Linked DNA regions of Homo sapiens: all the other regions are linked to region 1. The links are contacts of gene promoters, found by promoter capture Hi-C in human tissues and cell types (Jung and others, 2019). All regions are on one chromosome and are shown on one strand. The core of a region is centred on a gene start or on the middle of the fragment in contact, and the rest is flanking DNA. Distances in the headings are between cores, read along the strand shown. Region 1 holds the start of ETV5 (ETS variant transcription factor 5). Region 2 overlaps DGKG (diacylglycerol kinase gamma). Region 3 overlaps DGKG (diacylglycerol kinase gamma). Region 4 overlaps DGKG (diacylglycerol kinase gamma). Region 5 overlaps DGKG (diacylglycerol kinase gamma).

Region 1 (2,516 bases), core at 5-2,504:
AACAGAGCTCCGTCACAGGCCCCCAGCATCCCCGGAGAGAAGATAGAGCCGCCCCACGGCCTTCACAGGAGGGGGTAAGGGGGCGGAGAGGGGAGAGGATTGTTTGTTTATTTGTTTCCTGGAACACCCTGTTAAGAATCTCAGCAATTGCAGTTAGTGCCCTATCGTTTGGCAAGCAGAGCCGCTTCTCGTCGTTCCCAGCTGCACGGGATCTAATTCGCAAATACACCATCTTGCATTCAATACTTAAATGGAAAACAAGCAGCCCGGGGAGGGAGGCAAAAAGTCTGAGTCTGCATGCCCGTTTCGGAGGGATTTAGGTTTCCAGGTCGGTGGACTGGCTGCTGCTGTCCCCGGAGAGGATTTCTTTGAGCCCGAACCCTGTCTCACCTCGACTACAGAACCCACTCTGGCGGAGGTTACGAGCCGCAGTTAAAGAGAAAACGGGATTTGGTTGGGTCTTAGGCCTTGCCAGTACAAAATAGTAACAAAAATCTGTTTGAGAGCTGAGATTTTAAAAGGAGATGCTGCTTATTCTTCCCACTGGAAACCTGGTTAAAAGAAATTAAGGCCTCTCTTAAAGGTAACTAAGATTAGAGGGCTCGGTTTCCGTTTTCTGTGTTTCTGTGGGCTAAACGCCCAGGTCGGTCAGCGAGTTTGTGTGGAATGACGAATTCCTCTCCCCTGAATTCTAAAATGATAACTTTGCTTGGTGCTGCAGCTGCGAACGTCTGGCGCCAAGAGACCCAATTCTGGTCGGGGCTTTGCTGGATGGAGAAGTGGGGGTGAGTGGGTAAGGGGGAAGAGTCGTGCCTCGGTGAAAAGTCGGGAGAGCGGCGAGAAGGGAAGTAACGGCGGCTCCTCCTGGCCTCGGCCCCTTTAAGTGCTTCACTGACTCAGCTAAGCTTCCCCCTCAGGTCGCGTTTTTTATGAATGAAAAACGTCCTTACATTCATTATATAAACAAGCCTGTGCTGATTGGCCAATGGCCCCCGGTGCATAAATTATGTAAAACAGACCCCTGAGGGGGTGGAGAGAGATGCACCGCTGGCCAATGGGGGCCGGAGTTGATGGGGCGGCTTGGTTGGATTTGCCCGCAGACAGGGTAAACAAGAGGTGATGGACAGCCGCGGGAACGGCCTCTGGCCAATGGGAACAAGGCTGGGCTAGGGCCGCGGGCCAATGGCGGCGGGCGGAGCAGCGAGCCGCGGGGGGCCGGGCCAGCGCTCCAGCCTGGTTGGCAGCTGCGGCGCAGAGTCCAGCCGCTGGTGCGCGGAGCGGTTCACCGTCTTCGGAGCGGTTCGGCCCAGCCTTTCGCCCAGGCGCCCAGGCCCGCTGCGCGCGTGCGTGAGCGCGCCTGCGCCGCCGGGGCCGCTGCAAGGGGAGGAGAGAGGCCGCCTCAGGTGAGGGGGCTTTGCGGGGGCAGGGGGGAGATCGGAAGGGGCGTCCGGCCACTGGTCCGACAGGCCCAGCCGGCTAGAGTTCACGGGCTGATTCAGAATCTTCAAAGTCGGGGTGCAGTAGCTGGGGTGACCCCCCCCGGGTTGACCGCCCCCTCCCCCCGCGGCCCGGTCCGGTTTGGTTCCTGGGAGGCGTCGGGCGGGTGCGGCTAACGGTTCCGGAGCGCGGGGAGAGCGGCTTTCCACACGTCGTGGGGGAGGCGCCCCGGAGCGCGAGTGCGGGGGCTCCCGAGTGGATGGGGGATCGCGGAGTTGCGAGGCTTTCACAGTCTCTGGAGATTCGAGAGCCCCGAGGGGACTTGGAGGCTCGCGAGAAGAGACGCTTGGCGGAGCTCCGCAGTTGGGAGGAGGGGGCGGGAAGCAGTTTGAGGGGAATGTCTGAGAGGCGCTGCCCCCCAGAGCACCGGGAGGGGGTAAATGACACAGGCAAGTGCAGCCTGCGGGGGCGGGGGTCGACCAGGAACTTACGCAGGCCTTGCAAGTTTCAGGTGGTGGAAAGTGGACATCCAGTCGCCCTGCTCCCACCCAGCAGGCTGAGGGCGTCCGGCTGTGCGGCGACTCGAGAAAATCGGGGCGCACCGGAACAGCGGCCTGGGGATGGTGGGGATAACACGGGTGTGGAGGGGACAGCACCGAAAGATGCTGCAGCCTCGCAGCGGATTAGGGTTCCGGCCGCATTTTCAGAGGGTGGAGAAAACTCGGGGGGGAACCGAACTCCTGGTCGACGAGGGGGTGCCAGGGAGAGATGTTGGGGGTGGGGGGATTGGAAGCGGTTGGTAGCGCCGGGCGCCGCACCTCGTTTTTATGAATGTGGGTGACTTTATGAATGAAGCGGGTTTCTTTCGTTGGCTCGCTGCTCCCTGCGGCTTTTTTTTTTTTCTTCCCTTTTTGTGAATGAAGCATTGAGCTTTCTTCCTAAAACGCTGGGGTGAGGGGCCTGCGTCGGAGGCTGGGCGTGCGTTGGAAATGGGGGCGGGGGCGCAGCTGAAGGAGTTTTCATGAATGGGGAAGGCTGAGAATTGGGTGGAAGTGTGTCTTGTTTTGTGAATGGGGCCC
Region 2 (2,516 bases), core at 7-2,506, 240 kb before region 1:
CTCCACATGTATCCCAGAACTTAAATTTAAATAATTTTTAAATAAAAAAAAATTTCCTGACATTACTTCAAAATAGTTAATGTGTACCAGGAAAAATTAAAAGTATATTCTGGTGAAAATTATTAATTATAAGAAAAAATCTGTTGGTATGAAAACAGAAAAACAATGTTTTATTTTCAGAGAAAAAATAAGCAAGTGTCAGACATTGTGCAACACTAAATATCAGAAATAAGTTGAGGTATGACTGTGGAATTTGGGGGTAGTAAGATAATGAACCAACCGGTGCCGTGGCTCATGCCTATAAATCAAGCACTTGGGGAGGCCAAGGCAGGCAGTCACTTGAGCCCAGGAGTTTGAGACCAGCCTGGCCAACATGGCAAAACCCCACCTCTACTAAAAATACAAAAATTAGCCAGGAATGGTGATGTTCACCTGGAGTCCCAGCTACTTGGGAGGCTGAGGTGGAAGGATCACCTGAGCCCAAGAGGTGCAGACTGCAGTGAGCCGTGATCACAGCACTGCACTCCAGCCTGAACAACAGTGAGACCCTATCTCAAAAAAAAAAAAAAAAAAAAGATTATGAGCCAGAATTCTCTATTCAGTAATTTGTACAGAAAAAAAAAAGCTATTCTCAGACAAGGAAAAAAAAAAAAAAAAAAGCACCCAGCAAGTAGGCCACTAAAATCCTTTATTAAAAAATGTATTTACTCAAACTATTCTGGTCAACAGAGAAATTAACATTAAAGCTTGGGAATGGAAAAGATGTGATATCAAAGCTGTGGCGTGAATAATAAACCCACACAAACATAGACTTAGTATTTACATGTTATTAATATAGTCAGGAAACAATGCAACTGCCAAAATTACTCTCAACAAAGAAGATACATAAGAAACTTAATGATAATAATGTGGGGCTAAAAACTCAGATTACTCAAGGCAAAAAACCTTGATGTGCTGAATGTCTCATTTTGTGCTGTGGGAAACATTGAATATTGTTTCATTGCTGAACACAGAAAAATACAGGTTTAAATACATTTTTAAATAAGAAGACAGTAGATGAATATAAAACTAGAAATACCATGCTTAACTTCAAAATTAGGAGGAAGATTTGGAACATTATAGCCAAGAATGAAAACTAAAAAAGGGCTGGGTGCGGAGGCTCATGCCTGTAATCCCAGCGCTTCAGGAGGCCAAGGTGGGTGGATCACTTGAGGTCAGGAGTTTGAGACCAGCCTGGCTGACATGGTGAAACCTGGTCTCTACTAAAAATACAAAAATTAGCCTAGCGTGGTGGTGGGCATCTATAATCCCAGCTACTCAGGAGGCTGAGGCAGGAGAACACTTGAACCCAGGAGGCAGATGTTGCAGTGAGCCAAGATTGTGCCACTGCACTTCCAGCTTGAGCAACACGGTGAGACTCTGCCTCAAAAAAAGAAAAGAAAAAAAATACGTAAAAAAGGAAATAGCAAGGAAACATTAATATAAAAAGTATAAAATAAGATGATAGAAGCCAGGTCAAACATACCACATTAAGTGTGAATGGTTTAATCATTTCCTTTTTTTTTTTTTTTTTTTTTTGAGACTGAGTCTCACTCTGTCGCCCAGGCTGGAGTGCAGCGGCTGTGGTCTCGGCTCACTGCAACCTCTGCCTCCCGGGTTCAAGCAATTCTCCTGCCTCAGCCTCCCAAGTAGCTAGGACTGCAGGCGCGTGCCACCATGCCTGGCTAATTTTTTGTATTTTTAGTAGAGACAGGGTTTCACCGTGTTAGCCAGAGTGGTCTCGATCTCCTGACCTCGTGATCCGCCCGCCTCGGCCTCCCAAAGTGCTAGGATTACGGGGGTGAGCCGCCCCGCCTGGCCAATCATTTCTATTAAAAGACAAAGAACCACGCATTGGTCAAAACCCAATTCTAAATATATGCTGTTTTAAACAAAATGGGAGAGAAAGGGATAAAAAATGAAGGGACATAGATATATCAGGAAAATGCAAACAAAAAGAAAGGAGGGTGATATTAGTATTAAACTATAGCTAAAAGTAAAATTTAATACAAAAATCATTAAATGATACAATAAAATTGTCAAAACACAATTGCAGAGGGAAAATCTAACATACATCTGTCAATCTGCAACAAATTGAGTGCCAAAAACAAATTAGTGTATAAAAGTTTTAAGGCTATAAGGAGCTTGATGGAATGGACATATATGGGACTTTACATTTAAGAAATGAAAAAATCTATTAAAATGTTTATGAAATATTGAGATATTTTGATCCCATCGTAAAAAAATTATGATACATTTCAAAAAATGTAGAACTTGTTCTGGCAGTAAGAGGCAAATAAAACTGAGTATAGTATAGTATAGTATAGTATAGCATAGTTACTCTAGGATAATCTATTCTTGAAATTTGATGTAGGTCTAAGACCTGTGTACATCCACTCACCATTATTGATTTCAGCATTCAGTGAGAACAAGACCAAAAAGACCTGTTGTTTGACAAGCACCAAGTTTATAGAATG
Region 3 (2,516 bases), core at 11-2,510, 220 kb before region 1:
CATTATACAAATAATCTCATAATAACCTTGGGAAGCATGTGTTAATATTTTCACCATTCCCATTTAGAGATGAAGAAGAACTTGCTAATGTCACACAGTTATATAGGATAGAGCCAAGATCTGAATTCTGGTCTCTAATTCCAAAGTCAGACTTGTGCTTGGTGCTCTGGGCAGAAGTCTCCCTGACACAGGGCATGAGTCTAGGGCAGACGCTTCCCCAGGTAGTAATTTCATAAAGGAGACCTCTACTCACAATCCCTTCCCTACATCAGCCCCTCAGCACTGGAGTTCAGAATCAGACTTTTCCATTGCTATTCACAACCCTGCTTCCTTAAATTTCCACTGTTAAGGGCCCCAAGTGGTGAAGCTGAGTGAACTCTCCCAGGATTCACAGAGGTGGCCCCAGGGCAAGAGCAAGGTTTTCTTTCGAAGTCCCATGTTTTGCCTACAAATTTCCTGGATATTTTGCATTCTATTCCATTCTGTGCTCATGTTTAATATAATATAGCTTTTCCTCCCTCAAATAATGTTGGCTTTTCAGGAACAGGCCATGGTTTTTATTCTGGCTTCCATTCCCCTTCCATGTTGAGGACCAGGGCGTGGCATCTCCACAGGTGGCTTATTAATGGCATCTGTACCTGCACAGGCTCAACACTTAGGTACTCAGCACTCATTCATCCAAAGATGTTACCATGAGCTTTGAACAACACAGACTTAGATTCCTATACAGTCTCATCATTTACTAGTAGGATAACTTGGGAGAATTACTCTGGGCCTGCTTCTACAGATGTTAAATGGGCATAAAACATACGTTCCTCACAGGGTTTGGTGACTATTACAGATGAAGTTTGCAAAGCGCAAGATGTGTTGCAATCTATAAATGGAGGTTGCTGCTATTGCTTGTTATTACAGTGATTTGTTGAGCAAGTGAACAAATGAATGAATGACCAATCCTCAGATTGTGATGCCCCTGAGCTACAAACACTCTTCTTAGACCAACACTGCCTGCCTGTGCCAAAGACAGACCCCCAAAGTAGCAGTCCTCAACTTCTCCTTGGAGCCCAAAAGCTTTTTCTGGGTACCAGCCACTCCCAGCTCCCCCACCTGGGCATTTGGTTCAGCCTGACATTTTCATGACTATCTTGCGGCAGAGATTCTCACATTCACTCTGAGGCCACTAATGGTGTACAAAGTACCTCTCAAATGAAAATCCTCTCTGAATTCTTATGGATAGAATGCAATCCCAAGACTTTTGTGTTTATGTTTATTTAAGGACTACATGCCAGTAATATGCTAAATGAGTTATTAGGTATTACTCATATTTACCACTCATAAACTTAAATTAGATCATTGCAAAGTTCCCCAAGGGCTTTAATTCAGTTATCTGTGAAATCAGGCTGCTTCTAAATGCTCAGCAGCTACAGCCCCCACACTCAAGTAGATGGTTAGAATCCTGTGACCTGGGGAAGGCCCCGTTGTTGTCATTGCATGTCAGTCTTGCTTTGAGTTGGTTGTGGTTTTCAGCTACTGCTATTCTTGCTTATTAATTAGAAATTATAGTTCACTTGACTTCATAATTATCATATTAGTTTGTGAAGGATATTTGGCTAACCCTACAGCAGGCAGTGATACATATTTGCATCGAAGGTATTTTTAGCCTATAATTTTCCAACTACTAGATTTTAAGACATGAATAAGTTGCAGTTCAAGCATGAATCATGCAGATTCTGTTGCCAAATAGACACATGCATAACCTGCCCCTAAAAGTGCTTGTGTAGTTGTCTTGGTTATCTACGATTACATAACTAACTGCCCCAAAATCTTGTTGCTCCACAATTATGTTATTCGTCTATGTGTTTCTGTGCATTGGGAATCCAGACCAGGCTGAGCGGGGATGGGTTATCTCTGCTCCACGTGTGATGTCTGCCAAGGCTGTGAAATCCCAAATGGCTTCTTGTCTCACAACACAGCTAGGATGACTTAGATGACTGGGTGCTGGCTGGAATGGCTTGACTGGGGTCTTACATCTTGGGCTTCAGTTCTTGTCATCAGATGGGTTGCTCAGTTCTCCTCTCTGTAATGTTAGATCTCCCTTCATCCACGTGGCCTCTCCATGTGGTCTCTATGTGATCTCTCCAGCAAAATGGCTGAACTTCTTACATGGCAGTTCAGTGCCCTTAGGAACTCAGAAGTGGGCCTTCTCAAGGCTTATGCTTGACACAGGCACAGCACCACTTCTAATGCACTCTCTTGGTTAGGGCAAGTTACAGGTGCAGCCCGGACTCAAGGGAAGAAACTAGAAAGGGCATAAATATCAGGAAGCATGGTTTGGGGGACCACCAATGTAAATGACGACCACAATAGTGACAGTTCATTGATAAATTCAAGCAACTTATGTAACTTACAAAATACTATCAGATTAAGCATAATAAAGTAACTTGATTATAAGTCTATATCTGTTATAACTTTATAACCCTGATAGCCTATACTTGTGTAGGTCATTATTTTAATATAAA
Region 4 (2,516 bases), core at 6-2,505, 170 kb before region 1:
GATGTTTCTTGCTTTTAATATTTGCTAATTTTTAAAACACACACACAAAAATTTTGTTTTTATTTGTATTTAAAACAGTAAAAAATATCAATAACTCATCTTCTAAATGAGATGAAAAGGAAGAACATGCAAGAGGCAGCCCCTGGCTTCCTCCATCTCAGGGCAGCCAGCTTGGGGTCTCACCTCCTATTACCCCTGCAGGGCTCCAAGGGGGATGGGCGGCACGCCTGGACCATGAAGCACTTCAAGAAACCAACCTACTGCAACTTCTGCCATATCATGCTCATGGGCGTCCGCAAGCAAGGCCTGTGCTGCACTTGTGAGTAAATTTCCTTCAAACCTCTTCCCCCAGGCACTATCTTGCTCTGCGCATGGTTGGTTGATCCATTGCAGAGAAAATGTTGGTATTTCTGCTTCCCAGCTTGAGGGACCACCCATATTGTCCCAACAGAAGGAATAAAGCGAGGCCTTCATGTCCTGTTTTTACCCTACCCAAGTCCAATGGACAGGTCTTGGACTATTTATTATTGGAGGCTTTTTATGAGCCACTGACCCCCTAGAAGAAATTATTAAAGTCCACAAATAATTTAAAATTTCTCATACTACTTTTAGTTGGGTTTTCTAGTCAATATTTATTCTGGGTATGTTCAGAGGAAACTTATTTTTTAAAAATTAATAAGCATTTGGGGCCAAGTACGGTGGCTCACACCTGAAATCCCAGCACTTTGGGAGGCAGAAGCAGGTGGATTGCTTGAGGCCTGTAGTTTAAGACCGGCCCTGCCAACATGGAGAAACCTTGTCCCTACTAAAAATACTAAGGTGCTGGAAAGGATGTGGAGAAATAGGAACACTTTTACACTGTTGGTGGGACTGTAAACTAGTTCAACCATTGTGGAAGACAGTGTGGCGATTCCTCAAGGATCTAGAACTAGAAATACCATTTGACCCAGCCATCCCATTACTGGGCATATACCCAAAGGATTATAAATCATGCTGCTATAAAGACACATGCACACGTATGTTTATTGTGGCACTATTCACAACAGCAAAGACTTAGAACCAACCCAAATGTCCATCAATGATAGATTGGATTAAGAAAATGTGGCACATATATACCATAGAATACTATGCAGCCATAAAAAAGGATGAGTTCACGTCCTTTGTAGGGACATGGATGAAGCTGGAAACCATCATTCTGAGCAAACTATCGCAAGATCATAAAACCAAACACCGCATGTTCTCACTCATAGGTGGGAATTGGACAATGAGAACACTTGGACACAGAGTGGGGAACATCACACACTGGGGCCTGTCGTGGGGTGGGGGGAGGGGGGAGGGATAGCATTAGGAGATATACCTAATGTAAATGATGAGTTAATGGGTGTAGCACACCAACATGGCATATGTATACACATGTAACAAACCTGCACATTGTGCACATGTACCCTAGAACTTAATGTATAATAAAAAATAAAAATAAAAAAATAAAAAATAAAAATACTAAAAAAAAATTAGCTGGGCATGGTGGCATGCGCCTGTAATCCCAGCTACTCAGGAGGCTGAGGTGGGAGGATCACTCGAGCCCAGGAGGCAGAGGTTGCGGTGAGCTGAGATTGCACCACTGCACTCCAGCTTGGATGACGGAGTGAAACCCTGTCTCAAAAACAAAAAACAAACAAACAAAAAAAGCATTTTACATTCTGTAAAGGCAATAGGAATTAAAACTCTACAGTTGTTTCACTTTTTAATTCCTTTAGTAAAGTCAGAGTGGAAAGGTGGAAAAAACTACAAGTGGTAGAGGAAAAAGCAGAGAGGAAGACTGGAAAGGGAGACAGCAAAAAGAGATGGGGGAAAAGAGTGATAAGGAGTAGGAAAGAAGGGGACACAGGGAGCAGGAGGAGAAGGCAGAGGGGCTGCAGCAAGAAGGCATGGCAGGCACCAGAATATGTGGGTGCACAGAGCCCTGCCGCCCGCCCCGTGATGTGGACAGCAACACTCAGCCTGAACCCACCAGACACCGGGGAGCTGCTGCTGCAGGGAGGCCCGCTGGCTGTGCTCCAGGCTGAAGTGCTTTATCCAACATGCACGTGTGAATTAGGCAGCAAGTGACCTCAGCCACAGAAGTCGCCTTGGCAGAGCTGGGCCCGCTGTCCACAAAGACCAAGCATCAACGGGCTAAAGAAGGGGTCCGCCAGGCCTGGCGCGGTGATTCACGCCGTAATCCCAGCACTTTGGGAGGCCAAGACGGGTGGATCACGAGGTCAGGAGACCAAGATCATCTTGGCCAACATGGTGAAACCCCGTCCCTACTAAAAATACAAAAATTAGCTGGGCATGGTGGCGCATGCTTGTAATCCCAGCTACTCGGGAGGCTGAGGCAGGAAAATCACTTGAACCAGGGAGTCGGAGGTTGCGGTGAGCCGAGATTGCATCACTGCACTCCAGCCTGGTGAAAGGGTGAGATTCTATCTCAAAAAAAAAAAAAAAAAAAAAAAAAAGGGGTACAACAGTCTCCC
Region 5 (2,516 bases), core at 7-2,506, 130 kb before region 1:
GGCAGGTGGTTGTTGCCATGGTTACCCCATTACACCAGCGGCTAAACTTAGGAAAGGCCGCAAGGCATAGGAAGAAAGCTTGATACCCAGGATTTGGAAATGTAAACGGCATTATCAAACAAGGCCTATTTTACTCAGCTGAACTGAGGTTCTCCAAAGAGTAGTTACTGCTTGGCCGGAAGCCTTTACCATTACTGCCCAGGTTTGGACTCTCAGGGATAATCTTGAGGTTAAATCTTGGGAGTTGTCATTGCTGTGTTTTGTTCTGTTTTGTTTTGTTTTCAGCAAGGGAGAGTGACTAGTCAGGTCCGGAACACTTACCAGGAAACCGGAATCATTCACGTTGCTGATTCCCTTTTCTTGGCTATTCTAACAAGAATTCTTAACCTGGGATCCAAGGGCTTCAGGGGTTTTGAGAACACCTTGAAATTGTACTAAGGTACTGAATGTATTTTTCTGCAGAGAATGTCCATAACTATCAGAAGATTCTTAAAGGAACCTATACTCCCAAAATGTTTAAAAGTCACAGGTCTGAGGCCTCTTTGAATCCTAAGAGGCATCAAATTATGACTCAAATGTTGGGGTTTCAGGAAATTCTTCCTCCATGGCCTCTCTAGATGGGTTGTTGCCAGGGAAGATAGTGGGTTCCAGAAAACCAAGTTATGTTCTCTGATGGAATAGTTTCATTAATGGAGCAAGAACCAGAACCGAGGAGGCAGGAATACGAGCCATGTATGATGGGCAAAAAAGAAAAGGCCTTTAACGGCAGAGATGGGGTTATTTTTGGCCCTGTCTACCTCCTAGTTATCAATAGGCTAATCATTAATTGCTAATTGAGGAATGTTAGGGAGATTATCGTCTCACTGTTGGCATAAAGAACAAAAGAGAAATTTGATTCAACTGAGATTCTAAAGTGTTTGAAAGTGATCTGGAATAAAGGGCACATAAGATGTGGCCCCTGCCTTCAAGGAAATCGTCGTCTAGCAAAAGAAAAGGAAAAATAGTGCTCAAGTATTCTTTACAAAATTATTTTAACATACAAGGTGGTTACATTTCATAGGTGATATAGTATACAGGAAGTCGTATAATATGTAAGAACTTATTAATGGTCATATCCCAAACATCATTTGCAAATGGATTGTTTTCTTTTTGGGGGATGTTTTTGGTCTTTTTTTTTTTTTTTTTTTTTTTAGAAAGAGTCATTCTGTCACCTGGCCTGGAGTGCAGTGGTGTGATCTTGGCTCACTGCAACCTTTGCCTCTCAGGTTCAGGTGATTTTCCTACACAGCCTCCTGAGTAGGTGGGATTAAAGGCACACACCACCACGCCTGGCTAACTTTTCTTCCTATTTTTAGTAGAGATGGGGTTTCACCATGTCAGCAAGCCTGGTCTTGAACTCCTGACCTCAAGTGATTTGCCTGCCATGGCCTCCGAAAGTGCTGGGATTACAGGTGTGAGCCACCACTCCTGGCCAAATTGGTTGTTTTAGGTGTAGCAATAGTGTTAAAGGGGAACCTGACTAAGAACTGTTTTCATTTTTTTAGCTCCTCCTAGATGCCAAGTGGTGAACTAGGGTCTTTAAATACATTAAATTATTTAAATCACAAAACAACCTTTCAAGATAAATATTAGCATTCCCATTTACAGATAAAGGAACTGACACTGGAAGAAACCAAGTCAACTAACAAAAGTCATGTATTTTTTAGGCAGTGGGGCTAATTTAATTTCTGACCTAGCTCTTCACTCCAGAGTCCAAGCTCTGTTTGCCGCAACTGCTGTCTCACATAGATTTCATTGAGCAAGCACTGATGTATACCAGACACTCTGATAAGTACTTTATACATCATCCCACTCATTGCTCACAATAACATGCAAGGGTAAGTGCTACTGTCCCCATTTTAGAAATGAAGGAACTGAGGCTAAGGAGGATGGAGCTGTCATTGGCATCATCTGCCTTTATGGATTGTCTCTGTGGGAAAATGCCTGCTGAGTTCCAAAGGGGAGGAGAACAGGTACACCATCCAGTCATACCTTGTATGGTGTGAGCATTCTCCCTGTTTCCACGTCCACAGCAAGGAGCAGGACTGGCTGTATGATCTGTGTGACCCAGTGCAAAATTAAAAATGTGAGGCCCCTTCCTCAAAAATGGGACAGCAAAGCATTAAACTAAGCACTGAGCCCTCTTAAGTGTGGGGCCCTGGAGTCCACATCTCACACCTATGAGGTGGCCCTGGCAAGGACAGAGGAATTAATAAAAAGAAGACACTTTTGCCAGTAGTCACAGAGTAGGGTGTTTGCAATAAAGTCAAAAGAATGGAGGAAAGAGGGTTTCAACTTAGGGAGAAGGAGAGGGACTCTCAGTCCCACAAACAGGCAGCAATCAGTACTAGCAGAGGAGCCAAGAATCCCGTCAAAGTCTTCCAGATAGCCAAAAACCAGCCCACCATGAAGTTTCCAGATTAAGTCTCCATGAAGGGTTTTGCATATGAAATCTATACATAAAAGCCACCTAATTC

The links. Contacts are between HindIII fragments. The study calls those that stand out against the background at their distance.
Region 2: a contact is called between a fragment that was not itself captured here and the fragment with the promoter of ETV5 in region 1, in 1 of the 25 tissues and cell types used here (hippocampus).
Region 3: a fragment that was not itself captured here is called in contact with the fragment with the promoter of ETV5 in region 1 in 1 of the 25 tissues and cell types used here (spleen).
Region 4: a fragment that was not itself captured here is called in contact with the fragment with the promoter of ETV5 in region 1 in 1 of the 25 tissues and cell types used here (hippocampus).
Region 5: a fragment that was not itself captured here is called in contact with the fragment with the promoter of ETV5 in region 1 in 6 of the 25 tissues and cell types used here (dorsolateral prefrontal cortex, hippocampus, lymphoblastoid cells and 3 more).

What each region holds. Positions count from the first base shown.
Region 1 is chr3:186,107,827-186,110,342 of GRCh38, reverse strand. It overlaps ETV5 (ETS variant transcription factor 5), which reads left to right and starts at 1,254. Exons shown (of 13, transcript NM_004454.3): 1 at 1,254-1,403. RefSeq lists silencers at 942-1,571, 1,602-1,701 and enhancers at 735-1,713, 2,472-2,516. The HindIII fragment of the contact is 3,753 bases long and covers 1-2,516 here.
Region 2 is chr3:186,346,511-186,349,026 of GRCh38, reverse strand. All of the region lies in intron 1 of DGKG (diacylglycerol kinase gamma), which reads left to right. Among named protein-coding and RNA genes, the nearest start is that of DGKG, 14 kb to the left of the region's middle. The HindIII fragment of the contact is 4,747 bases long and covers 1-2,516 here.
Region 3 is chr3:186,330,202-186,332,717 of GRCh38, reverse strand. All of the region lies in intron 1 of DGKG (diacylglycerol kinase gamma), which reads left to right. Among named protein-coding and RNA genes, the nearest start is that of DGKG, 31 kb to the left of the region's middle. The HindIII fragment of the contact is 7,911 bases long and covers 1-2,516 here.
Region 4 is chr3:186,273,350-186,275,865 of GRCh38, reverse strand. It overlaps DGKG (diacylglycerol kinase gamma), which reads left to right. Exons shown (of 25, transcript NM_001346.3): 10 at 202-319. Among named protein-coding and RNA genes, the nearest start is that of DGKG, 88 kb to the left of the region's middle. The HindIII fragment of the contact is 6,398 bases long and covers 1-2,516 here.
Region 5 is chr3:186,236,968-186,239,483 of GRCh38, reverse strand. The region is part of intron 20 of DGKG (diacylglycerol kinase gamma); the gene reads left to right. Among named protein-coding and RNA genes, the nearest start is that of DGKG, 120 kb to the left of the region's middle. The HindIII fragment of the contact is 7,185 bases long and covers 1-2,516 here.